Regions from separate parts of the Homo sapiens genome. Here region 2 is linked to region 1. Evidence: promoter capture Hi-C in 16 types of primary human blood cells and fetal thymus (Javierre and others, 2016). All regions are on one chromosome and are shown on one strand. The core of a region is centred on a gene start or on the middle of the fragment in contact, and the rest is flanking DNA. Distances in the headings are between cores, read along the strand shown. Region 1 holds the start of HAUS5 (HAUS augmin like complex subunit 5). Region 2 overlaps HPN-AS1 (HPN antisense RNA 1).

The links. The method cuts DNA at HindIII sites, captures the fragments that hold promoters and counts their contacts. A CHiCAGO score of 5 or more calls a contact.
Region 2: a contact is called between a fragment that was not itself captured here and the fragment with the promoter of HAUS5 in region 1, in 2 of 17 cell types (M1 macrophages and total B cells). The highest score is 6.0, in M1 macrophages.

Annotation. Positions count from the first base shown.
Region 1 is chr19:35,608,612-35,614,604 of GRCh38, forward strand. It overlaps HAUS5 (HAUS augmin like complex subunit 5), which reads left to right and starts at 4,124. Exons shown (of 19, transcript NM_015302.2): 1 at 4,124-4,281; 2 at 5,119-5,181; 3 at 5,257-5,289; 4 at 5,424-5,448. The coding sequence starts at 4,184. HAUS5-DT (HAUS5 divergent transcript) reads right to left here and starts at 4,053. Exons shown (of 2, transcript NR_186318.1): 1 at 4,007-4,053; 2 at 1-192. RefSeq lists enhancers at 3,858-4,413, 4,002-4,261. The HindIII fragment of the contact is 7,658 bases long and covers 147-5,993 here.
Region 2 is chr19:35,083,473-35,090,139 of GRCh38, forward strand. It overlaps HPN-AS1 (HPN antisense RNA 1), which reads right to left. Exons shown (of 4, transcript NR_024562.1): 3 at 3,484-3,628. It also overlaps the pseudogene LOC100420797. Among named protein-coding and RNA genes, the nearest start is that of HPN-AS1, 19 kb to the right of the region's middle. RefSeq lists enhancers at 646-1,460, 2,747-2,796, 2,907-3,016. The HindIII fragment of the contact is 229 bases long and covers 2,548-2,776 here.

The DNA of each region.
Region 1 (5,993 bases), core at 2,874-5,373:
AATCACCTTATGGAAGAAGCCTGGATCCCTGAATTACTATGTGGATCAGGAGAAATGTCTGATGGGATGTTCTATGAGTAAGAAATGAGAAGACTCTTCTCAAACGTGGAAGGAGCTGCTGAAACCAAAATCACAAGTCCTAGAGAAGCTTCTTATTATCTCTCAGATGGTGGATGGGTTCCAAAAAGCATCCTGAAATTATCCAGAAAAACAGAAAAGAGATTTCAGATAAAGCAAAGGGAGAGAGATGCTGACAGAAGAAGACCAAGAGGCCACAGGGGCTCTGCTCCTTCAGGATCTAAGAAAGCAGGAAGGCACCAGTACCTCCCACCAAGGCCAACAGAACAGATACCATGAGAAAGGAACCAAGAAAAGGACAAATGGTGACATGTCTCCAAAACAAGGAGACATTGAGCATAAGAAGCAGAAAGTGAGGCCAGGTGCAGTGGCTCACACCTGTAATCCCAGCACTTTGGGAGGCTGAGGCAAGTGGATCACTTGAGGTCAGGAGTTTGAGACCAGCCTGGCCAACATGGTGAAACCCCGTCTCTACTAAAAATACAAAAATTAGCCGGGTATGATGGTGCATGCCTGTAATCCTAGCTACTTGGGAGGCTGAGGCAGAGAATTGCTTGAACCCAAGAGGTAGAGGTTGCAGTGAGCCGAGATTGTGCCACTGCACTCCAGCCTGGGCGACAGAGGGAGACTCTGTCACAAAAAAAATAAATAAATAAAAGCAGAAAGTGGCCAGGTATAATGGCTCATGCCTGTAATCTCAGTGCTTTGGGAGGCCAAGGTGAGAGGACTGCTTGAGGCCAGGAGTTTGAGACCAGCCTGGGCCACATAGCGAGACCCCGTCTCTACAAAAAATTAAAACTGAAAAAAATCTAGCTGGGAGAATTGGCTCAAGTCCCAGCTACTAAGGAGGCTGAGGCAGGAGGATCACTTAAGCCCAGGAGTTCCAGCATGTGATGAGCCGTGATCGGGCCATGGCTCCAGCCTGGGCAACAGAGTGAGGTCCCATCTCACAAACAAACAAACAAACAAACGAGAAAGCCCAGGTAGCAATGAGAATGAGACTTGCCCAGACAGGCACCCCGGGTGACTGCTCCTGGGGGTGCAGGCCATCCATTGTCCTTTGGTGGTGTCTCAGTCCAAAGGCAATTGTGACCAAATCACAGGGACAGATCAAGTCTTCTCAAAGCAGAGACTGGTGAAACTTTCCAAATCATGGCGGTAGGGCACGCCTTGCATGTTACTGAGAACTTCCTCCTCTCTCTTGACTTTGCAGTCTGAGACCCGGTCATATCTACATGTGTGTTTGGGGCAGGATGGGCAGAGACATAGCAGGAAAGGAAGTCACAGGGGTGTGTCCTACCCCAGCCAGGAAGCAGGCAGCAGGGACCGCTGTGGGGCATGCCTGGAGGTTCTTCACCATCTGCTGAGCACCAGCATAACAATGGGACATTGGGACTGTCCACCTGCACTGTGCTGTTACCACTAACCAGACAACTGGCTTTCGTGGGATTCACCCTGGGTCCCTGGGGCAGAAAGCACCCTAAGTGCTCAGGGCCTTCCTCTGAAGGGGTCACTTTTTCCTTCATTGTCTTGGGTGATGTAACAAGCTGTGCCAGACTGGAGGAAGTGAGACCAGGTGCCTGCAGTGAGCTACTGAGACGCAGGTGACAGTCACAGCAGTTGCATTATCAGGGAGTTTCCTATGGTCATCTGAACTTCGAGGGAGGTTTTCTGGGGCCGGGCATTCCTTCCTCATTCCCATTTACCTAAATTGGCCCATCCTTGTCTGGTAGGTCAGCACCCAGCAGAGGCTTCTCCCCATGCACAGCACTGTGAGGTTCAGGCACCTGGGCACAGTAACCACAGTGATTCCTGGAAGCTGGTGGGCATGCTATCCTGGGGCCATCTGAACTGGGAAAAGCTGTGTGAGTTCTTGGGGGCCAGCTTGTAGCCTTTTTGGCTGGGGCCAGGTTGAAGGTCTTCCTGGGAACCAGAGTCAAGAGCGGCCACTTACATTAAGCGGATAAAGCCCACGACTTTCTTGAGCTGCTTGACAGCTGTACCAAAAAGGCACAAACCCATTGAGGATATTATGAAACATGAATACAGATGATTATTTTATTTTGGTTTGGTTTTGTTTTGGCTTTGAGACAGGGTCACCCAGGCTGGAGTGCAGTGGTGCCATCATAGCTCACTGAAGCCTCAACCTCCCAGGCTCAACTGATCCTCCTGTTTCAACCCCCCAAGTAGATGGGACTACAAGCGTGCACCACCACGCCTGGCTAATTTTTTTTAATTTTTAATAGAGACAAGGTTTTGCTGTGGTGCCCAGGTGGGTCTCAAATTCCTAGCCTCAAACATTCCTCCCACCTCAACCGCCCGAAGTGCTGGGATTACAGGCATGAGCCACCACGCCCAGCCATTGCCTTATAATTTTTTACTGATGTCAGATATTGTTAATTTTACAGTGTTGGATGCTGGATTTTTTTTAATCTCTATAAATATTCTTGAATTTTGTTCTGGAATGCAGCTAAATAATAGCTTGATCCTTTCGGGCCTTGCTTTTAAGCATGGTTGGTTAGTCAGCATCAGAGAAGTATTTCATCTAGGGCAGGGGCAGGGGTCTCCAAACCCCAAGCCGTGAACCAATACAAGTCCATGGCCTGTTAGAAACCAGGCTGCACAGCAGGAGGTGAGTGGCGTATGGGTGAGCATCACTGCCTGAGCTCCACCTCCTGCCAGATCAGGAGCGGCATTAGATTCTTACAGGAGCGCAAACCCTATTGTGAACTGTGCATACGAAGGATCTAGATTGCGCACTCCTTATGAGAATCTAATGCTTAGGCGGGGCATGGTGGCTCACACCTGTAATGCTAGCACTTTGGGAGGCTGAGATGGGCTGATCACTTAAGGTCAGGAGTTCAAGACCAGCCTGGCCAACATGGTGAAACCCCGTCTCTACTAAAAATACAAAAATTAGCTGGGCATGGTAGCGGGCGCCTGTAATCCCAGCTACTCAGGAGGCTGAGGCAGTAGAATCGCTTGAACCCCGGAGGCAAAGATTGCGCTGAGCCGAGATCGGGCCACTGCACTCCAGCCTGGGTGAAAGAGGGAGACTTCACCTCAAAAAAAAAAACAGGGAAGAAAAAAAAAAAGAGAGAGAGAGACAGAGAATATAATGCCTCACGACCTGAAGTGGAACAGTTTCATCCCGAAACCATCCACTGCTCCCACCCTCCATCCCCCAGACTGTGGAAAAATTGTCTTCCATGAAACCAGTCCCTGATGCTCAAAAGGTTGGGGACTGCTGGTCTAGCGCAGACCTCTCACACCTGCTGTGTCCCAAATTGACCCACCCCTGCTGCTTATTTTTACCACCCCTACCTGGTGGTGCGTCTGTCTCCCCACTCAACTGTGAGCTCCGTACAATAGGGACCAGGGCTGTTGTGGTCACCATGGTGTCCCCAGCATCACCCAGCACAGGGTCAGCTCCCTGAGTTTATGGAATGGTAAGCACGAATGAATGGGAAAACGCATGCCAGGGAAATGTTAGGGTCATGCTCTCTGCCCCTACCCTCCACTCAGACATGAGACACCTGTTTCTGAAATCAAAGAGCAGTAAGTCCAGGATCTCATTGCCTGGTTCCAGTCCTCCTAGGACGCAAGTCCCATTTTGTCAAGAAAATAAAGGGGGTGAGCGTGGTGGCTCACGCCTGTAATCCCAACATTTTGGGAGGCCGAGGCGGGAGGATCGCTTGAGCCCAGGAGTTCAAGAGCCCAGAAGCTGAGACTAGCCTGGGCAACAAGTGAGATCCCATCTCTATTAAAATAAAAGTGTTTAGTTAAAAGAAGAAAAAGAAAATAAATGGAAGCATCAAGGACTGTTTTGCCTCTTTCGGGTTAGCTGGTAGTGAGCGGGAGAACGAGGGAAGGCGGGCGGGGCTGCAGTCTCTCCACGCCCTTTTCATTTCCACTCAAGGAGACCTACCTGGGAAGAGTGAGCGCTGCAAGACCCAGCCTGACCGCGCTAAGATTACTATGCAGCGCCCGAGCCCGCTGTCTGCCCGGCAACCGATGACGTCACTGTTGGCGCGCCCGTGACGTCAGAGGCGGGCGCCACACTTGAAGAGGCTGAGGGAGGCGGTGTCGCCGCCGCGGCGCTGTCATGGAGCTAGCGCAGGAAGCGCGGGAACTGGGTTGCTGGGCGGTCGAAGAGATGGGGGTGCCCGTGGCGGCCCGGGCCCCGGAATCGACGCTGCGCAGGTGAGGACCGCTCCTGGAGTGAGGACACCCCACCCTGGAGATTGAGTCTCCGGGAGTGAGAACTCCACCCCTCATTGAGGACTCGACTCCCCCCAATTCCCCATCGAGAGTGACCCGACTTACTGAGGGCTCCCTACCCTGGGAGGCTCCCCAGAGTGAGGTCCCTAGCACTGGTGAGGATCCTCCACGAGTTAGCTAAGACCTCGCTCCTTATGGAAATAGGATCTCCAGAGTGAGGCTGTCCCCGCAGCACCTCCCCTCCCTCCCTTAACCTAACCAAGAAGGACACTCAGGAGTTAGCCGTGGCCACCCCATCGGGGATTGAAGCTGTAGGAGTGATGCCCCACGTCTGGTCATGAGATGGCACTTCCTGGCAGTACATCCCCCACCTCCACCTCTGGATGTGACTGGGATAACCCACTCCCAGGAGAAAGGGAGCACCCGCCTCTCCCGCGCTCCCCCACCACCCGCCTTCCCAGGGAATGAGAATAACACCACACTTAGTGCAAACATCCAGTCCCTACAAAAAAAATGTTTTACCAATTAGCCGGGTGTAGTGGTGCCTGCCTGTAGTCCTAGCTACTCTGGAGGCTGAGGTGGGAGGATCGCATGAGCCCAGGAGGTTGAGGCTGCAAGGAGCTATGATCGTACCACTGCGACAGAGCGAGACTGTCTCTTAAAAAAAAAAAAAAAAAAAAGGCAAAAAAAAGTTTGGGCCTTCCCTCCTCAAGAAGTGAGAACTCCCTAGTAAAAACTCCCTACCACCATCACCCTAGGAATGAGGATCCCACACCCTGTGTGCTGCCCCAGGCATATGCTTACACACTGTCCCCACAGGCTGTGTCTGGGCCAGGGGGCTGACATCTGGGCCTACATCTTGCAGCATGTGCACAGTCAGAGGTAAGCTGGGCTAGAGCAGGGGAGGGGGCACAGGTGAGGCCCATAGTAACTCCTCTTTCTGCCTCTGCACTGTAGGACTGTCAAGAAGATCCGGGGAAACCTACTCTGGTAACTGCTTCTTAAAGCTATCCCCTCCTGTCTTCCCCACTCCCATTTAGCCCTGTCCCCACCACAGCATCACACCTATTGCCCTCCCCCCTAGAAGCCCCACTCATCCGCTGACTCTGGCCTCGTTTTCCTAGGTATGGCCACCAGGACAGTCCACAGGTGAGAAGCATATGCTACAAGATTCTCTTTCATCCGAAAAATGACTTGTAGATCTTCTGCTCTAAGCCCAACCAGGTGCTGGGTGATGCTGGGGACAATGGGTCACAAGACAGCCTTGATCTCCATCCTCATAGGGCTTAAAGTCCAGTGGAAACAGCATTAGCTCAGCCAGGTGCAGTGGCTCACACCTGTAATCCCAGCACTTTGGGAGGCTCACCTGAGGCCTCATCTCAGGTGATGAGATCACCTGAGGGCTCCAGGAAGCGATCAGTACTGGGACAAAGATGTGGTTTGGGAGGCGGATCACCTGAGGTCAGGAGTTCGAGACCAGCCTGGCCAACACGGTGAAGCCCTGTCTCTAATAAAAATAAAAAATTAGCCAGGCGTGGTGGCACACGCCTGTAATCCTAGCTACTTGGGAGGCTGAGGCAGGAGAATCGCTTGAACCTGGGAGGCAGAGGTTGCAGTGAGCTGAGATCGCACTACTGCACTCCAGCCTGGGCAATAGAGCGAGACTCTATCTCAAAAAAAGAAAAAATAAATAA
Region 2 (6,667 bases), core at 1,412-3,911, 530 kb before region 1:
TGGTGAGCCACCGTGCCCAGCCTGAAATTGACTTTTAACCTGTGTTAACATCACTCTGTCCTGAGATCAAAACCACAGGGCTCTGCTGTTGGCAGGTCTTGTCCCAGAGTCTGGGTCAGCCTGTCCTGGGGAGGGCCTGGGATCAGCCCGGCCCACACCCTCTCCAGTCCAGCAGGCAGCTGAGATGGGTCCTGAGCCATCTTTTTATCCCTTTGGTGTGAATGGGACAACGCGACCATTTCACAGATGAAGAGCAGACACAGAGCCGCACAGCTGGGGAGTGGCAGGGAGGGGTCCCCCTGGGCCTGATCTTGCCCTGGGTGATGCAGGGGCCAGGGCAGGACTGAGAAGTGCCGGGTCTCTGACCTCGTAGGGCCCACACGCTGCCAGGGTGGCCGAGTCTGTGGTGGGGCAGCCACGGCAGAGTGATCAGGGCTCACATGAGGGAAGCGTAGGGCCACAGGGGAGCACAGAGGAGGGGCTGGCCCAGCCTGGAAAGTCAGGCCAAGTTTCCCAGAGGAAGGGCCACGAGAGCTGAGGCTTGAATGACAAGTCAAAGCCAATAGGTAAGCAAGGAGAAGCCAAATGTTCTAGGGAGAAGGAACAAGGTTTTCAGAAGCCCAGAGACTGTGTAAATTTGAGCCAGAGATGGGGGAGCCTGGAGAGAGACATGGTCCTGGGCTGTGTCTGTGGGGCCTTGAATGGCAGGCAAGAAGTGAGGACTTTATCCCGAAGGACTGGGCCTCTAACCTCCAGGACCCCAAGGCGCAACTCCTTTTCTCTGCCCCTAGTCCCTCACTCCTCTCAGAGCAGGAAGCAAGTTCAGCATCTTGCAAACAAAACCTCTCTTTGTCCAAAGGAAACAGCCCATTGCAAGCTCCGAAGGCCAACACAAGGGACTGGTGGTGGGTGCTCTGGCCTCTGGCCTGCCTGGCCCACCCCTCCTCCCAAAGCCAGAGACAAGCCCCGGGGGCATCACACACTTTGACTAAGGTTAACTGAACACCCACTAAGTGCTAGGCAGCATTCTAGGCGCTGCAGACACAGCAGTGACCCAAACAGACAAAACCTTGCCCTCATGGAGGCGACATTCCAGTGGAGAAGACAATCAGTCAACCCAGCCAGTAAGTAGGTGATTAAACAGTAAGTCAGGCGGGGCAGGGCTGGGGAGTGCTGGAGAAGGGGCATGCAGTATTAAACTGGGGGGTTAGGGTTCCCTGGGGTGCAGAGAGGTGCCCTGGGAGTGGAGACTGAAGGTGGTGGAAAAGGGAGCCGAGCTGGCTGGGGGAGCGGGGAGGCGGGGGGACATTCCAGGCAGCAGGAATCCAGGAAACCCATCCAGGAAGGGTGCAGGTGTCTCCTCCAGCCCCCAGACTCTGGGTGCTCAAATTAAGATGAACTTTGAGCTGGAATATCTCCCACATCCCACCCAGGACATTTCTCCTTTTCTGACTTTCTTTATTAATCCTGAGACTGGGGGACACCCCCACTCCGCCAGCGCACACACACACACACACACACACACACACACAAAACCCTCCCCAGCAATCTCTCCTCCAGTATGTTTTTCCCCTGATCTGTGAAACCCCCAAAGACAAGGGTTAGGGATGGGGTCTCTCTTGGTCACCAGTGTGTCACCAGAACCTACCATAAGGCATTTAAAAGCATAGGTTAGGGCTGGGCACAGTGGCTCACACCTGTAATTCCAGTACTTTGGGAGGCCGAGGTGGGTGGATCACTTGAGGTCAGGAGTTCAAGACCAGCCTGACCAACATGGTGAAACCTTGTCTCTACTGAAAATACAAAAAAAAAAAAAAAAAATTAGCTGGGTGTGGTGGTGTGCACTGGCTGAGGCGGGAGGATCGCTTGAACCCAGGTGGAGGTGGAGGCTGCAGTCAGCCAAGATGGTGCCACTGCACTTCAGCCTGGGTGACAGAGCAAGACTCTGTCTCAAAAACATAAAAAAAATGAAAAAGCATAGGTCAGATCTCATCAGATTCCTGATTAAAAGCATCCCTGGGTCCCCCTTACCTCTGGGATGAAAACTGACCTCCAAGCCTCCTCCTAAGAGGCCCCCACAGCGGCCTCTCTCTGCTCACCCTGCCTCCTCCTACACTGGCTTTGTCTAGCTCACTCCACACCGAGGGTCCAGCCACACTGGCCTCTCTGCTGTCCCTGGACCACGCCAAATGCCTTCCCACCCCTGGGTCTTTGCATCTGCTGTTCCCCCGGCCTGGAATGCTCTTTCCCAGACGTACACACGGCTGGCTCCTTCCATCATTCAGGCCTCAGCTCCAATGTCACCTCTGCAGAGAGGCCTCCCTAGCCACTGTCCTCAAATCAGCCCATGGGGCTCAGCCACTCTGCGCTACCTAAAGCTGGGTAACACAGATCTAACCCAGTTTCTCAATCCAAAATTATCTTTTATTTATTGCTAGTTTGTCGCCCATTTCCCCCCTCTAGAATAGGCCAGCACACTTTTATGATAAAAGGCCAGATAATAAATATTTTAGGCTTTCAGGGCCACACTCTGCCACAACTACTCAAAGCTTCTGTTGTAACATAAGAACAGTCATAGACAATACACGAACCGGCGAGCTGGCTTTCATGAAGACATTATTTATAGACACCGGAATTTGAATTTTACATGATTTTCACACCTCACAAAATTTCCTCTTTTGGTTTCTTTTTTTCTAACCACTTAAACATGTAAAGACTATTTAGATTGTAGGCTGTGCCAAAACAGGTGGAGGGCCAGATTTGGGCCCAAGGGTGAAGCTTGTCAACGTCTGCCCTAGAACATCTGTTTTATGAGGTCAGGGATCTCTGTCTTGGTCATTGCTGTGTCCCCAGGCCCTGGGATGTTCCCGGCATGTAGTGGATGCCAAAGTTGAACAAATATGTGCTATAGAAAAGGCTTCGACACATTCATTAATTCTTCCAACAAATATCCATTGAGGTTTGCCGTGAGCTGGGCTCTGGGGAGATAGCAGGGAACATAATTTGAACGTGGGGCAGTGAGTTGACATCCTTGCATTGAATGACTTGTGTTCCTCCAGAGCTGACCTGGCCCCCCGACAGCCACTACGAGCTGTGTGGCTTCTCCTGTCCCAGCTCCTGCACCGAGCCTGCCCTGCCCGACAGCTGTCTGACACCATGCCAGGATGGCTGCCAGTGTGACCCAGGATTTGTGCTCAGTGGCACGGACTGCTTGACCCCCATCCAGTGCAGCTGCTCCATGGGGGGCAGATACCACCTGGCCGGGGAGCCATTCTGGGCTAGGGAGCACTGTGAGCAATTCTGCCACTGCGAGGCTTCCACCCATGCTGTGTGCTGCTCCCCCTCCTCCTGTGGGCCAGGGCAGAGATGTGGGACCCTAAGGGGCATCTTTGGGTGCCACCCATTCTCCCCTGGCACCTGCCAAGCAGCCGGGCACTCACACATCATCACCTTTGATGGGAAAACTGTTGAGTTCTCAGGTACCTGTGTGTCCGTCTTTGCCGAATCCTGTGGCTCTTCCGGCTCACTGCCATTCTTCAGGATACAGCTGTGAAAGGAGAACAGATCCAGCAGCCCCCTCATGCTCATCTTGGAGGTGTCTGTCCAGGTTAATGGGACCCAGGTCCACCTGCGGAGGGACAGCCCAGGCATGGCTCAGATAAGCACCAGCTTTGGGACGTGTCGTTTCTAGGAACCCCAACCCTTCACCCAAACCCATAGGCCCAAGGGAAAAACTTATTCTGTCTCCATTATTTCTACATTTTACCTCTATTTTCTGATTATATGCCCATTTTTGACTATATCCATCAGATGCATTCAGCTAATATAACAGAAACACTCTCAGACCAGCTTAAGAAAAAAAAGAATTACTGATTTACACAATTGAAAAAAAAAATCTACAGGTGTATGGATTCAGGCATAGCTGGACCCAGGTGCTTGAACAATATGTCTCAAATCTGTCTCAATTTCTGGGCTCTCCTTTCCTTCATTTTCAGACAGGCACCATCCCATCCCACCTTGTAGGGACAAGGACAGCTGCCAGGTTAGCAAATGTCACTGGAGGAAAAGTGTCCCTCACTGGCCCAGCTTGAGTCATGTGACCACCCCTGAATCCCTGATGGACTAGCTGATTGGCTGGGCCTGGGTCATGTGCTGGAAGTTAGGATAGGATTGACTTTCTGTGAACCACATGGATTGATTTTGGAGGGGTGAGTTCTCAGGGAAATCCAGAGAAAGGAGAAATGAATGCAGAACAGGATAAAACAAGAGATGGTCACTATTATAGTTATGTCCTTGTTCCTTCATCTAAAAATGTTTTACATGTATTGGTACGGTGGCTTACATCTGTAATCCTAACACTTTGGGAGGCCAAGGCAGGTGGATCCCTTGAGCCCAGGAGTTCAAGACCAGCCTGTCTCAAGCAGGCAATATAGCGAGACCCCGTATCTAAAAAAGAATTAGGTGGGTGTGTTGGCGCACGCTTATAGTCCCAGCTTATAGTCCCAGCTACTTAAGAGGCTGAGGTGGGAAGATCGCATGAACACAGGAGTTCATGGCTGCAGTGTGCCATGATTGTGCCACTGCATCCAGCCTGAGGGTCAGAGTGAGACCCTATATCAAAAAAAATCAACATTTTTCACGTATTTGAACACCTACTATGTGCCAAGCAACACTGACCCAACTGTGGTCCTATGCTCCCGAGCCTTCCTTTGATTCTGCCTGCTCCTTAGGTGAATGGTGAGACAACAGCCCTCCCCGTAAGCCTGAATGGGGGCAGCCTTGCCGTCCACTGGAATGGCCTCTTCTCCCTGCTGCAGTCAGACTTTGGCCTCTGGCTCAGCACAGATCTCACCTACAGCCTTACCCTCACCCTGCCCCACCTCTACAAGGGTCACACCTGTGGGCTCTGAGGCAACTTCAACTGCAACCCCAGTGAGGACGCTAAGGCTGACATTACCTTGGAGAAGCAGAGCAAGGCTTGTAGGGACAGCTGTGGGGCTGCCTGTCCAGTCTCAGTCTGCAATGACCAGGGGCAGATTGTGTCAGCCAGGAGGCAGTGCTGGCTCCTGCAGGACCCCCAGGACCCTTCAGCCACTGCCACTGGGAGATCAACCCAGACCCATATGTTTCCAGCTGTGTCGATGATTTGTGTCTTGCTGGGGATGATGACCACATCCTCTGCCTGGCCCTGCAGACATATGCCGCCATCTGCCAGGGCGCCAACATCACCATCAGGCACTAGAGGAATTCTTCCTTCTGTGGTGAGTCATGGTTGAGCAGGGCAGGAATTCATCTGCATGCTCTGTATGGCCACACACAGACTGACATCCTTCTGTACTCCTGGGCTGCCTGAGTGCCCCAACCACTTCCCATATTCCCAATTCCAGCACAGGAAGGCCTTCCAGGTTCTCCTCCTAGGCTCCAGCTGGACGCATGTGGATTGGTAGGGGGCCTGTATGCTACCGACTGTTATGTTTTTTTTTGTTTTTTGTTTTTTTTGAGACAGAGTCTCACTCTGTCACCCACGCTGGAGTGCAGTGACTTGTTCTTAGCTCACTGCAACCTCCTCCTCTCGGGTTCAAACTATTCTTCTGCCTCAGCCTCCCAAGTAGCTGGGATTACAGGTGCCCGCCATCACGCCCAGATGATTTTTTGTATTTTTAGTAGAGATGGGGTTTCACCATGTTGGCCAGGCTGGTCTCGAACTCCTGACCTCAGGTGATCCGCCCACCTCGGCCTCCCAAAGTGCTGGGATTACAGGTATGAGCCATGGCACCCAGCCCGCTATGTATTTTGAATACCACCCTGGGTTGACTGGATCCCTGGCCCCCTGTCAAGGGGATGTCCTTTTCCACCCTCAGAATGCCTGACCTGAGATGCCACAATAATAATCCCAACAACTGCTAATACTTATTGAACATCTACAATGTCCCAGGCATGGGGCCGAAGGCTCTGTGTACCTCTTGCCGCCACTGTCTCAGAAACACCCTGCAAGTGAGAGGCAATGACTGTTATTATTCCCACTTTACATTTGGGAAAACAGAGGCTCACAGAGGTAAAGCCATTTGTCTACTGCTAATCACAACAGACAGAGTTGAGACTTGAACTAAGACTTTCTTTCTCCAGAGACAAAAGAAGTTTTATTACTAGCCATATCATCTAATTCTTTCTTTCTTATTTAACTATTATGGAAAATTTGAACATAAAAGTAGAGAGAATAGCCTATTGAATGCCCCTGTACCCAGAAGGCAGCCTCAACAACAGCCAAGTTGTGGCCGACCTGTGTCCACCTCCACCCCTCCCTTATTGATTTATTTTGTGTAAAGCAAATCCCAGACAACGTGTAAACCTGTAAATACTCCAGCATTATTTTTTTTAATAGATAAGGACTTTTAAAAAGAAAAAAACCTGCTGTGGCCGGGCGCGTGGCTCACGCTCACACCTGTAATCCCAGCACTTTGGGAGGTCGAGGCAGGCGGATCACCTGAGGTAGGGAGTTTGAGACCAGCCTGACCAACATGGAGAAACCCCGTCTCTACTAAAAATACAAAATTAGCCGGCGTGGTGCTGCATGCCTGTAATCCCAGCTACTCGGGAGGCTGAGGCAGGAGGATCACTTGAACCTGGGAGGCGGAAGTTGCGGTGAGCTAAGATTGCGCCATTGCAC